Regions from separate parts of the Homo sapiens genome. Here region 2 is linked to region 1. The links are contacts of gene promoters, found by promoter capture Hi-C in blood cells and fetal thymus (Javierre and others, 2016). All regions are on one chromosome and are shown on one strand. The core of a region is centred on a gene start or on the middle of the fragment in contact, and the rest is flanking DNA. Distances in the headings are between cores, read along the strand shown.

Region 1 (6,926 bases), core at 2,020-4,519:
GATGAAAAGTTGAGGTCAGAGCCTGTCCTCGTGGTGAAATATCTAGGCTTTCTCTAGAGAGGCCAGAATCAAAACACAAGGTTGTAGGAAGGAGAGGCCTGAGTTGAGAGCTCCATCTTAAAGGTGCTTTGAGGAACCCGGGGTGGAGGGTGTGCCCACTCTTGCGGGGGGCATGAGGCTTTTCTCTCTGAGCCTGACCTGAGGCCTGGGTTTCCTCTCAGCCTGTTTCCCCACCTGGTCCCCAGCCCCTAGCACCCTTCCTGGCTCAGCTATGGGGAGGAATGAGGAAGTCCTTGGCCCCGGGGCCTCAGCCCAGACACCACCGTAGGGTCTTCTATTCCCTCACTCCCTCCCAGGCCATGCAGTGCCAGCTGCTACCCGTGTTATATAAACAGAAATCATTCACTCTCTCTCACTCTACCTGAGGCTGCATTTCAGATTGGAGCTTCCTGATGGAAGAAAAAGGGGAGGGGGAAGAACAGAGAGAGAGAGGAGAGGAAGTTTAATTGGCTGACTCTTATCGCCCATGTGGTAAATAAACTGGCTGCTCCGAACTTTGCCAACTCGGGAGGAGACGGGCCCTCCTGGGCTCCCTGCCTTAGCTATGGCCCGGCCCCCTGTCAGACAACTTCAGAATGCAGCGCTCCTGCAAAGCTCTCAGAAAGACCAGTGCCTGGGGAAGCAGCAGGGGCTTTGGGGGTTCCAACCTCTAGGTATGATTATTCCAGAGCACGACCAGAAACATCCAGAGATCACAGCCACCCTTTTGACAGAAAGGCTGTGACTCACCCGGAGGTCACAACACACTTTTAGGGGCCAAACTTTGTCCTCTGCTTCTGCTACTCGGCGTCTCTGCTAAAGGCATTCAACAGCTTTCCTCCGGCACTGGCCTGGGAGCACTGGGGGTCTAACTTGAACACCTCATGCTGAATTTAGAGCAAGTGTCTTCTTGTCCTGCCTGCAGCGTGAAGCCAAGAAACGGCTCTGTTTTGCCCCAGGCCTACCCAACACATAAGCAGCGTTGGTGAGGCCTGGATGTCAAGATGCCTGGGTTCCTATTCCGGCTCTGGGTATAGCTTACCATGTGACCTCGGGCTGCTGTTGCCAATCCTTGAAAATGGAAAAGAGGGCAGCCCAGGTGGTCTCCAATGTGCTGCTCACAGTTAGGAATAGGGAAAGGGGTTGTCTCCAGGGGTCCCCTGATGGGGCCACCCAAGAGGTACAGGTGCCCCTTAGCTGAGAGAGACCTGGCTGGCTTTATAAAGTACCTGCCCCCGAGGCACTGGCAGTGGTGGACCGGGAAGGGCACACAGACATCTCCAGGAAGCAGTGTTTAAATGTTGGCAATGCCCTTCCCTTCCAGGAGGAATGGAAGAGGAGTGTCCCAGACACTGGGACAAGGAGGGAAATAAGGGTGAAGTAGAGAAATGGCTGGGGCAGGGAACAGTTGAGTGCTACAGAAAAACTGAGGCAGACAGGATAGAAGATGGGTCGGGGTTGGGGGGGACGAGGAAATGGTCATTGGTGGGCAAAGACCAAAGGATGTCACTATGGGTGTAGAGGCCAAGTTTCAACAAGGGCTGTAGACTAGGGGCAACTGAGGGGGACGGAGTGGGCACTGATGGACACATATACGGGATACAAATGAAGGACAGAGAGTCGCGGTGGTTAGGGAGGAGCCTTTGGGCCCTAGGGCAGTGGTGATGCTGATATAGGGTATTGGCGCTGACCAGTGGGAGAAGAGGATGAGATCCTGAACCTGGGTGGAGAGGGAGAGAGAGCTGGCAACAGCCAAAGCCCTCAAATGAGCCGCTGCCTGTGCTGGGGGCACCTCGGCCAGCCCCAGAAACCTGGGGAGTGCTGGAATCAGCCCCACGGAAAAAGAAGCTGGCATGCGCAACCCTGGCGACGCCCGAAGGGTTTGGAGAGAAGAGGTTCCAAGGAGCGAGCACCTCGGAAGACCTGAGCAGCTTCAAACAGCAGCTTCTCTGCCCGCCACAAGGGGGTGCCCTGCACCTCGGGGAGACCTCGGGGGATCCTGGATCAGCCCTACCCTCTGCAGCCCCGCCTGGGACAGGGCCCGACGTTGCCAGAGAAGAGGCAGCGGGGAGGCGCGAGCGAGACGGGTCCACACTGTGCCCACCCAGGGCTGCCCGGCACCCCGCGCGCCCACGCAGTCCACTCTTCACAGTAAACGCCGCGGCCCCCGAGGGTTAGCCCTAAGTGGCGCTCTCTTTGGACGTTAGGCTGTCGGGGGCCCCGTCCTTCTTCCCCAGCGGGGACGGTGTCTCCGGAGTCGGGTCCTAAGGAAGAGAGCAGCGCTGGCTCTCGCTCACCGCCAGCCCGCCCGACGGCCATAGGGCAGGGGGGGTCGCGCCGGTGGGGCCGGCAGGGGTCCCTGTGGGCCGCCTCCCCGGCTCAGAGGGGACCAGAACCGTGCGTGTCGCCGCGGCTGGAGTCAGCCTCCGGGTGTCCCCGGACGCGGCACGACCTCGCACACACACACCGCGCGCACACGCTCGCGCCGTGCGGTATTTTCCCGGCCCCGGACCCCGCCTCTGGGAGGGGCCGGGGAGCCGAGCCCCGCTAGCAGGGTTGGGGGACCGGGAACGCCTGGGTCCCAGCCCTCGCGTCAGGGCTGTGCGCCACCTTCCCAGCCCCTTTTGGCGCGCCGGCTCGGCCCCTGGCGCTGCCACCCCTCGGCCCGCGGGGGTCCCGGAGGCTCCCGGGCGCGCGGCGGACGAGGTTGTGGGGACGGGTGGGAGCTGCGGGCTTCGGGCCGAGAGGCGGCTCGGCTCCGCGCCGGGGAAAGTTTGGACGTGGGAAACTCCCTCCCCGCCCTCCCGGCCGAGAGGAGGGGGCGCGCAGGGCCGGGCGCAGGCACCCCGGCTCCTCCTGCGGCTGGAGGCTCGCCCCCCGCGCCGCCTGCCCGGCCGCTCCCGCCGGCCAGGGGGCTCCCTCCCTGCCGGGCAGCCTCCCCTCGGCGGCGATCCGGCCGCTCCTCCCGCGGCACCCCGCGCTCTTACCTCGGGGAGCGGCCCGGGGCTCCCCCTAGTCCTGCCGCCTCGGGACGCTGCGTGGGGCGGGAGCCCCGGCGCGGGCAGCGGGCGAGTCCGGAGCCCCGCGGCCGCCCGCAGGAGCCGGAGGGAGAGCGGGAGCGAGAGGGGGAGCCGCGGCGGCGTGTGCGCGCGTGTGTGTGAGCGAGAGAGCGAGAGAGCGAGAGAGCGAGGGAGTGAGCGAGCGAGCGGGAGCGAGGGAGTGTGCGTGTCTGACTGGGGGGAAGTGTGCAAGGGACGGATCCCTTCCTTCCTCCCGCAGCCTCTGGTGGAGACTCGGAGAATGCAGGGCCCGCCGGGCAGGAGCCGCGCAGCGCCAAGCCGCAGGCGGCCGCCGGCCCGGACCCCCGCAGCCGGGGAACCCCAGCCCCCGCCCCCCGGATCGCGCCCCTCCTACACCAGGAGGGGACAGCCTTTCCCTCTCTCGGGCGGCCCAGTCCCAGGAAACCCCCCAGGGGACAGTGCCCCTCCCTCCTCCAACCCCAGATCCGCGCGAAGGGAGCGCCCCCAGGAGGGGGACCATCTACCTCCTCGCCTGGCAGCTCCCCAGGTGGCCGCAGTTTGAGACCAGAGCCTATTTCCCCACCTGATTTTACTGCGAATAGGGCTTCCCATTTCCGCCCCCTGACTACTGCGGGAGGCCGCCTTCAGAGGAGCAGGGGCGCAGGCCAGGGTAGGAGCAGGCTTCTCGAACAGTGGCCGCCCCGGCTTGCTGCCCAGAAAGGCACCTTGCACAGACCAGATCTGCCAGTTCAGAAACAGTCACTGTGCATTGAGGTGGACACCGACCAGGTGCCCAGGGCTGAGTCTCCAGGCAGGTGGGAGGTCGGGTGTCCCCGGGAGAGAAACTTGTGGGCTTTTCCTCTGGAGAGTCCCGCTGGACATCCTTGCAACCAACAAAGTAAGCAGGCAAAACAAGACACCTCCATCCTTAACTTGGTGCCACCTTGACCTGGAGAAGTCTCCCAATAAAATCTTCCCACTGCCCAGAAACTCCTTGCTGGTTGGGTTTTCCGTTCTTTTAAAAATCCGGCTGGTCTGCTCCCTGATGTTTTTTCCACCTGGCCCTGTTTCTTTCTCCTGGCTGCCTGGCTCTCCTTACTACTTCATCTCTCTGGGATGAGGCCTAATGGAGGAGACCCTCCCACCCCACTCCTGAGTTCCCAATATGAGGTCGTTGATGGTAGGATAGGACCAGTGACTCCCATAGACCCACCCTTTGTCTTGGGTTGTAGGTCCCCTTAGGAGTTGCCCGCCCCCCTATTCCCCATGGCTTCCAGATAGGTGAGTGAAGGATAACAGGAGACTGGACAGCTGCAGACCTCTGTCCCGCCAAGCTGCCAATGACCAGCCATTTAATCACCCACAAGCAGCTGCTGAAGTTCATGGCAAAGAGGGGGCAGGGCCCTCCAGGACCCCCAGCTCTACCTCGCCCCTATCCTTCTCTCCTCCTCGCCTCCTTCCCCAATTTCCATCTCCATCTCCACACCCTAGTCCGTCTTGCTGATGATTGGAATCACCTCTCCTGCTGGCTGCCCCTCTGGCCCCTCCTACTAAACTCCATCATTCATTTATTTATTTTGAGATGTATTCTCCACTGTGCCAGTCTGTTCCCTCCCCTACGTCCTTCTCTTGGTTTATTTCCCTTCATTGATCTCTTCCAGCCTTGCCTTTCTATCGCCTTCCTTTTCTCCATCTCTCTCTTCCCCTCTCCTCTCTATTCTTAGCCTCCACTCTTTCATGCTTTCAGAGACCAGAGGCCAGCCTTCCAGGTGCATCTCTTCACTTTTGGTTCTCTCCTCCCGCTCTGACTCACTTTTGCTGTTTGCTCCAGTTCCCATTCCTTCTTTGCCTCTTCCTCCAGGCTCTGGTGTGTGCTGTTCATCTCTGGAGTCAGACCTACTTAGTTGTCCACAGGTTGTTTTGGTCTGGGACACTGTTGCTGTCACATCTGCATGCACACAGTAGGTGCTCAATAAATGTTATTGAATGAACTGTTGTCACATCTTTCTCTTTTGCTCTGGTCTCTCTCTTCTCTCTCTTTTATTTTTATTTTTTTTTGAGATGGGGGTCTCACTATGTTGTCCAGGCTGGATTCCTGGACTCAGGTGATCATTCTGCCTCAGCCTCTCAAGTAACTGGGACACCAGGCATGTGCTGCTGCACCCAGCTCCCCATGACTCTTTATTAGACCCTCAGGTTTTCCTATCCCAATGTTTCCTATTTTCAGGCTCATTCTACCGTTATTTCCAATTCTTCCTTCCTTCAACAAACTTTCTCTGAGTGTCCACTCTGTTGTGAGCACTATGGCTAGGCTCTGAGAACACATTGAATGTTTATTGAGCACTTGCTGTGTGCCATAGTTCTGCTTTTAAGTCCTCACAATAATCAGATACTAGTATTAGCCCATTTTACAAATGAGGAAACTGAGACACGGTGTTGAAATAGCAAGATCATTCAGACGGCAAGTAGAGAGATCAGGTTGACGCATTGGGCCTGGGTCAGACCTCTCACTCTGGTCTGGGAGAAGGTAAGCTGGGACTCCTGCTGCAGTGTGGCAGGGGCAGCAAGAGGCAGTGTAGTGTGACAGAGGAAGAACTGGGCAGGCCTGGGCTCTGAGAGCAGTTCTGCCCCATGCAGACTGTGTGACACGTGGGCAAGCCACTTCCCCCAGCATTGATGTGAAGAGAAAATGAGATGATAGTAACAACAGTTAACATTTAGTGAACCTGTGCCATGTGTCAAGCCTTCTCCTAAATGTTTTACACAGATAATTTCCTTTTACTTTCAACAAATTTATAAATTCATAATGGGGAAACTGAGGCACAGTGCAACTATGAAACGTGCCCAAGGTCACACAATTAGTTTATGGCAGAGCTGGGATTCAAACCAAGGCAGGCTGGGGCCAAAGCCTGCACACTGAACTGTTGTGCAATATTGCCTCTGGGCAAATAAAATGCCAAGTGCTTTGTAGTTAGAGTTTGAACGTGTGCTTTTTTATATCGTGTGGTGAGTCTACAAATAAGAGAGACACCACTCCTCCAGGGATTGGGTAGGATGAGGAAGGACTTGGGGAGAGAGGCATGGCTAGGGAAGGATTCCAAGAGGAGGCGCTTGTGAGAATTCTCCTTCCCACTCCATCAGAAGGGCACACAGCCCTGTCTTGGCACAGGGGACATGTTTTCCCCTGGAGTAGTCATCTGGGTCCATGGGCATTTCTCTCTCTCTAGCCCAGGGTCACTCCACTTTGGCCCTATTGACATTTGGGCCAGATAATTCTTCGTCATTGGGCATGTCCCATGTAGGATGCTTAGTAGCATCCCCAGCTTCTACCCACTAGATGCCAGCAGCACACCCCCTCCCCAGTTGTGACAACTAAAAATGTGTCCTGACATTGCCAAATGTCTCCTGAAGGGCAAAGTCACCCCCAGTTGAGAGCCACTGCTCTAGTCTGAACGCCCTAACAGCAGGGTCTGCTCCAGGGAGCCTGCAGGTTTGAGCAGGGGTCAGTGAAGGGTGTGTGTGTGTGTGTGTGTGTGTGTGTGTGTGAGTGCATACACGCGTGTGTGTTGGGGATGGGGAGGCTGCTCTTAGCTCCAGGCTCTGCTATTCTCCCTGGCTCTTTTCCTCTTCTTCTCTACACTTCTCTGTCATCCCTTTATCTGTCTGTCGCCTTCTCATGCACTGTCCATCTGTCCTCGCTTCTCTGACTGCCTCCACTCCTGTCTCTGTCTCCTCCCCCTCAGTGTCTCTGGTCTCTCTGACTGTTTCTGAATGGGTGTCAGTCTCTTGCTACCTGCCCCTACATCTTCTCTAGCACCCTTCTCCCCTCCCCCCATCTGCTTATCTCCTAGCTGTGTCCCTGCGTCT
Region 2 (6,926 bases), core at 1,827-4,326, 400 kb after region 1:
TGAGCAGGGGGATAGGGAATGGGTGCTGCTGATTGGTTGGGGGGGTGAAATCATCGAGATATGGAAAACAGCCCCGTGCACTGAGTCTGCCTCTAGATGGGAGCCACAGGACCAGTCCACTCATGAATCTTTAGTCCAGGCGGGGTCAGTTGGTTGCCAGGATGTGAAAGTATGAAAAACATCTCAAAAGATGAATCTTAGGTTCTACAATAGTGATGTTATCTACAGGAGCAATTGGGGAAATTACAAATCTTGTGACCTCTGGCCACATGACTCCTGAGCAGTAAGGAATTACCAAAACTACACCTGCATTTTAGCATAATTCAGGCCCATCCCATAATCCTAACCTCATGGACTTTCATTAATTTTACAAAGGTAGCTTCAGTCCCTGAGCAAGGAGGGGGTTAGTTTTAGGGAGTGATTATTATCATCCTTGCTTCAAAGTTAAAATATAAACTAAACTCCTCTCGTGGTTGGCTTGGCCTATACCCAGAAATAAGCAAAGACAGGTAGCCGGTGAGGTCAGAGTCAAGATGGAGTCAACCATGCCAGATTTCTCTTGCTCTCTAATCTTTGCAAAGGCATTTTCAGTCCCTTAAGATCACATTAAATTAAAGTTAGATACCATCCTCACCGATTTCTCAGCTTCTGATGGTTAACTGTTCAAGGGTCAGAGGAGAGATTCAAGGCCAAGGGTGATAAGCCTCCTAGTGTCCATGTAGATATAACCTAATCTCTACTTTCTCCTGGAGATGATCCATCTCCTTTTTCTAATCAAGATAATGAACAATAATGAAATGTGTATTCGTTATTTATCACTGTATAACAAATTATTCCCCAAATTTAGTGGCTTAAAGAAACAAACATTTATTATCTCATGTCTTCTAGGATAAAGAATTTAGCATAGCTAAATTCTAGCTCTGAGCAAGAGCTCAGAATCTTGCAAGGTTGAAATCAAGGTGTCAGCCAGGACTAGAGTCACCTCCAGGCTAGGCTGAGGGAAGATTCACGTCCAAGCTCACCACAAGCTTGTTGGCCAGATTTAGCTCCTTAGGGGCTGTTGATTTAAGGGCTTTAGTCCCTCACTGGTTATTGCCTGGAGGCATTAGCTATGTGATTCAATAGCTTCGCTCCATGTGGGCCTCTCCATTGGGAAGCTCAAAACATGGCAGCTCAATTGCTTCATCAGAGCAAACAAGTGAGAGATCTCGAAACTGAACAACACAGAAATCATTTATAACCTAATCCGAAAATGACATCCACCATATTTGCCGTCTTCTATTCATTAGACGTTGCTAAGTGATACTTCTAGTGACATCTAGAAGAGAAGAGGATGCCACTAGGCCACGAATACCAGGAGGGTCTCAGTGTAATCAGACTTTTTATATGAAGGCTCAGGGATCCAGGCACCAGTATTCCAGTGACCCAGCCTCAGAAGTTACACAGTGTCACTCTGCAGGCTACTGATCAAACCAGTCACAAGCCCACTTTTATTTCAAGGGAAGGAACAACGAATTCTGGAGCCATGTTTTCAAACTGCCCCAGCTATTATTATTTTTGAAACTGTGCAAGGATCCCCTGGTTCAGAGGTCTTATGGATGCTGTCATCTTTGCTGAGATACCTGCTTGTGCCTTCAGCATGGAAGAATGCCTGTGTATCCACCTGTACGGTAGGGGTCGCTGTGACTTTGACTGGTGAGGGTACAGCCACTGGTGCACATGCAAAGGTGCCTATCTGTGAACACGTATTGAGAGGCTGGATAAGGCTGCGCCCATGTGAGTGCTGGGCTTGTACGTGCATTTTTGCCTGAGTGAGCATTAGTGGCAGTGTCCCCAGCCTACCCCTTTCCTGAATCCCAGGCTCATAGCCAACTGCCCACCTATTTCCACGTGGATGCCTGCTGAGCACCTCAAATGTCACACAGCCAAGACAGAACTCTGGATCTCCTTTCCCAGCCACAAGCTGCCCCTCTTCCAGTCTGTAAGTTCTTACGGAGCATATATATGTGATCTGCCTACTTTTCTCCAACCTCACCACAGTGACATGAGCCCAAACCAACTTCTCACCTTGCAACAGCCTCCCAGGTGGGAAGGCTGAGTATTCTGGCCCTTAACCAGTTAGAACTCCCCAGTTATCTGTCCTGCTGATGGGGTTGAAATCTACATTCCTGACCCTGGCCCACCAAAGCCCCTCCCTTAGCTCCCATCTCCCTCCTCTCTCCCTGTCTTCTCCTCTGCTCCAGACACTCTGGCTTCATTTCTGCGTTTTTTGTACCCCATAAGCTCCTTCCCACCCCGGGGCCTTTGCCTTTGCTGTTCCCCCTGCGGGGAATGCCGGATCTCTGCTCAGATATCCTCTTCTCAGATCAGCAAGCTAAAGCAGCCACCTGTGTCTGCCTAACCCACCACCGTAGTTTAACTTTCTGCCTAGTCTTTATCACTAGCTGATATTTCTCAGGATCCTTTAGTTACTTCTTTTTCGTCTTCCCCTCCTAGAATGTAAACTCTTCCCCTCCTAGAAGGTAAACAAAAGACCTGTTCTGTTTTGTTCTTCGGCCCATCCCAAGCCTAGCGTAGTGCCTGGTATGTGGTGGTGTCCAAACCCAAGCGTGGAGTGAATGAGGGATGAATCCATGAGAGAGTGAGCGGCTCCAGTGGGTATGCGCGAGTGTCTCACTCGGTGTAGATGTGTGTGTTGTGTGTGTTGTGTGTGTGCGCACGCTGGGGAGGCCAGACAAGTGTGGACCAGTGATTGGGGCACCTCTTCCCTGCAAAGAGGCCAGGGGAAGACAGTGCGTGTGGGGTCTTCTACCAGGGAGGATGGCTTGCTGGTGTGTCCCCCCCAGGGGAGGACTACCAACGAAGGGGACCCGGGAGATGGCGGGTGGGGGCCCCCGGGAGGACAGTGGGCGAGGGAGGGGGTCCTTGCCAGGCCTGGGGCGGCCGGGGGCGGTCCTGGGCTCCCCTCCGTCCCGCCTCCAGGCCTCGGGGCCTGGCTGGCCGACGTGGCGTTGGCGGCGCTGCGCGCGGGAGGGCAGGGCAGGAGGGACAGAGGCGGGGGCGGGCCGGAAAGTTTGTCCGGCGGCAGCGGCGTTGGGGACTCCGGCGGGGGATGCGCGCCCGGCCCCTCAGCGCCCCCAGCACGCCGCCGAGTCCCGCTCGCCATGGGTAAGTCCCGATCGGGCGCTGCCTGCTGGAAGCCCGACCCCTTCCCAGGGTGTAGACACCGCCCCCACGCTCCCCTAAGAGTGCGCGCCCCCTGGCTCCCCCAGGGCCGCCCCGGCCGGATACCGCCTCTCGGGTGGCCAGCCCGAGACTGCAGGCCTGCGGCGGGGGCTGGGACGGGGCTCGGTCGCGCTTCCTTCCATCTTCCTTTCTGCCCCGGAAAAGTGGCCCCTCACTTGCTGCAGCGCCCACTCGGGCCCAGGCACTCTCCCGGGCGCCCTGATCCGACAGCCCCAGGCAAGTGCAGCTGTTCCTGGTCTGCAGATGAAGAAATGGAGGCTCCGAAAGAAGCAAAGCAGTTCATCGATTCGCTGAGCGCGGTTGTGCCCCAGGCGCTGTTGTGGGCCTGGGGACGCTGTCGCGAACGAAACTGCGAACAAAACAGACGAACCCCCTCCTCTGGACGTGATTCTGCAGAGAGGGGACAGAGAAGGAGATTCTAACACAGCATTGGGGTGGGACGCGTGGGGAATGGCTTTGTTGCCACTCGGGACTAGGGCTCTATTTTTCTCTCTGCATTCAGAAGCCTCGAAGGATCAGTCGTTGATTCTTGAGTGAGCACCTACTACGTGCCAGACATTGATATAGGGGTTAGAGCTTCAGCAATGAACAAAATAGACAATAAACCTCTCTCTCATGGAGGTGGCATTCTGATTGAGCAGCTGGGTAAACACGTTTATGAATAACTTCAGAGAGAGATAAGGTGTTGTGGAACCCATAAAATGGGGTGGCGTGAAGGCCAAGGGCGTGGGTTCCTTGGGTAGGTGGTCAGGGTGGGTTTTCTGGAGTAGGACGTTTTGGAGCTGAGAACTTCCTCAGAAGCGGGTCTTGCTGAGATCTGGAGAAAGAGCTTCCAGGTGGCAGCAACAGTGCAAAGGCCCTCAGGCAGGAATGAGTTTGTGTGGCCCAGGCCAGGATGGCCAGAGCACAGCGGGCAGGGCACTGAGGTCAAAGGGATGGCAGAGAGGTGTGCAGGGCTTTGTAAGCCGTGGTGAGAAGTTCAGATTTTATTGCAAATGCCACGGCAAGCTGGAGAAGGGTTTTAAGCTGGAGCGGGGCCGTGACCTGAATTATCTTTTCTTTTTTTTTTCTTTTTTTTGAGATGATCACTCTGTCGCCAGGCTGGAGTGCAGTGGCGTGATCCCGCTCACTGCAACCTCCAGCTCCCTGGTTCAAGCAATTCTCCTGCCTCAGCCTCCCAAGTAGCTGGGATTACAGGCATACACCACCACGCCCAGCTAATTTTTGTATTTTTAGTAGAGAGTGGGTTTCACCATGTTGGCCAGGATGTCTTGATCTCCTGACCTCGTGATCCGGCTGCCTCGGCTTGGGATTACAGGCGTGAGCCTCCGCGCCCGGCCCTGAATTAACTTCTCAAAGTTTGCTCTGAGTCGTTCTGTGGAGAATCACAGTCGCTAACACTGGCTATGATGTAGGTAAGCATAGAAGGTAGGCATTAATATCCCATTTGTAGATGGGGAAGCCCAGAGAGGTGAGGTGAGTTCCCCAAGGTCACACAGCTATGGAGAGGAGAAGCTGGGAAGGAGCCCCAGCATTCTGACTCCAGTCTGCATTCCTAACCACTGCACCACGTGGCCTGTCATGGTGGATTAATGGTAAAACTGGTGACCAGTTCCGGCTCTGACAGGAGAGTCCATCCTCTTAACCCCCACAGCACAGTGCCCCAGAGCCTGAGAAAAAAATGAGGCCCAGAGAGGTCAAGGTCTTCTTAAGGACACTCAGCTTAGCCCTAGCCCCTTGTTCCTGCACCTCCTATTCCTGCTAAATCAACCCAACAGCCATTTGCTGAGTGCCTTCTATGGGCAGAGCGAGGGCTGGGTGTTAGTGCTGGGGGAGGCATAAGTCATGGCTGCGGGTCTCTGTCCTCCCCAGAATTCTTACACAGCAGGGACCAGGGATTGGGCTCTCTTTATAGCCTCTGGGGGCAGAACTGGGTTCTAGACCCAATTCCTCTCACTTTGTTCCACCATTCCACTTTGACCTGGGAGAGTCTGCCAACTTCTCTGGTCACTATCAAATACCCTTATCACAGGGTAGCCATGAGAATGATGTGAAAAAATGAATTACAGTGCTCGGCTCATCACCTATATCTGGTAAATGGTGAGTGAATGTGAGTTTTTATTTTATATTGCACCCAATATTGGGATTCTGGAGTCAGACTGCCCGAGTTCAAGTTCCTGCTATGTGACTTACAAACTGTGCCACCTTGGGGAAATGTCTTCACCTCTCAGTGTGGTGGTTATTTCTGTAAAATGGGAATGACAATAGTGATTGTCATAGGATTGTCTAGGGATTAAGCCAGCTGGTACAGATACTGCCCCTTAGGAGAGTGGCTGGCTATAGTGGGTACTCCAAGTATCAGCTGTGGCTGCAATTGCTGGGACATTTGGAAGCCGGCCATCTGCAAGAGGATATTCATACAGTTCAATTTCACATCTGGCTTCTCCCTGGAGCTTCAGGGAAAGCCACAGCAGGTCTCTGGTGCAGGAGGGACCCAGTGCTCTGTGACCTCTGGTTGAGACACTACTCTAGTGTCACCAACGGGAGGCCTAGGACTTGCAGCTGGAGATACTTGCATCCCAAACCAGGGTTCTCCCCCCTCCCCCTGCCCCCTGACCCTGTCCCGGGGAAGCTGTGCCCTCCACAGCGAGGGGCTTAGAGGATTAAGGGATTTCCTCCAGTGTGGGACATCTTCACTACAGCCTATGTTAGGCAGGTTATTAATAGAAAGGATGCACACTTGCTAAACTTAGGTCAAGCCGTCTTAATGTGTTCTCCTTAATTTTCTTTCTTTTCTTTTTTTCTCTTTCTTTCTTTCTGTCTTCTTTCTTTCTTTTTTTTTTTTTTTTTTTTTTGACAAAGTCTGGCTCTGTCATCTAGGCTAGAGTGCAGTGGTACAGTCTCGGCTCACTGCAACCTCTGCCTCCCAGGCTCAAGCCATCCTCCCACCTCAGCCTCCCAAGTAGCTGGAATTACAGGTGCACACCACTATTCCTGGCTCATTTTTGTATTTTTTGGTAGAGATGGGGTTTCACCGTGTTACCCAGGCTGATCTTGAACTCATGAACTCAAGTGATCCACTTGCCTTAGCCTCCCAAAGTATTGGGATTATAGGCATGAGCCACCGAGCCCAGCCTAAGACATCTTAATTTGAGGACGAGGCTTTGCTCTGCTTCCTGTCCATGGCCACTTCCAGGCCCTGGACCTTTCAGATGTTCATGAGCCAAGATCCTTTCTTTCTGGATTTCCTACATCCCCACAGTTCATTTGGTTTTTCATTCATTCACTCAATCATTCATTTGTTTAACAAATATTATTGATTGAGTGCTGAGTAACTGTCCTTGGCCTCAGGGAGACAGCTGAGAAGAAACAAACCACTCCTGTTCCCTTGAGGCTGACTTTCAGGTCAGGGAGACCAATAAATATGTAAAATATGTAGTTATTTTGGAAGATGAGAAGTGCCACGCAGAAAAAACAAGTGGAGAAGGGAATACAAAGTGCTAGATGCTACAGGGAGGTTGAATTTTAGGTAGAAGGCCAGGGACAGCCTCACCGAGAAGGGGATGTTTCAGCAAAGATCAGAAGGGAGGAAGGAAGGAACTGTTGGCATGGAGGGACAGGACTTCCCAGGCAGAGAGGCTGGCAGGTACCAAGCTTTGAGTTGGGACGTGCTTGGAGTG

What was found. Contacts are between HindIII fragments. The CHiCAGO score rates a contact against its expected background, and 5 or more counts as called.
Region 2: the fragment with the promoter of SLC2A10 here is called in contact with the fragment with the promoter of CDH22 in region 1 in 1 of 17 cell types (M0 macrophages); the score reaches 5.3 in M0 macrophages.

Annotation. Positions count from the first base shown.
Region 1 is chr20:46,305,229-46,312,154 of GRCh38, forward strand. CDH22 (cadherin 22) reads right to left here and starts at 3,270. Exons shown (of 12, transcript NM_021248.3): 1 at 3,027-3,270. The HindIII fragment of the contact is 22,305 bases long and covers 1-6,926 here.
Region 2 is chr20:46,706,573-46,713,498 of GRCh38, forward strand. SLC2A10 (solute carrier family 2 member 10) reads left to right here and starts at 3,077. Exons shown (of 5, transcript NM_030777.4): 1 at 3,077-3,168. The coding sequence starts at 3,165. The HindIII fragment of the contact is 5,872 bases long and covers 1,027-6,898 here.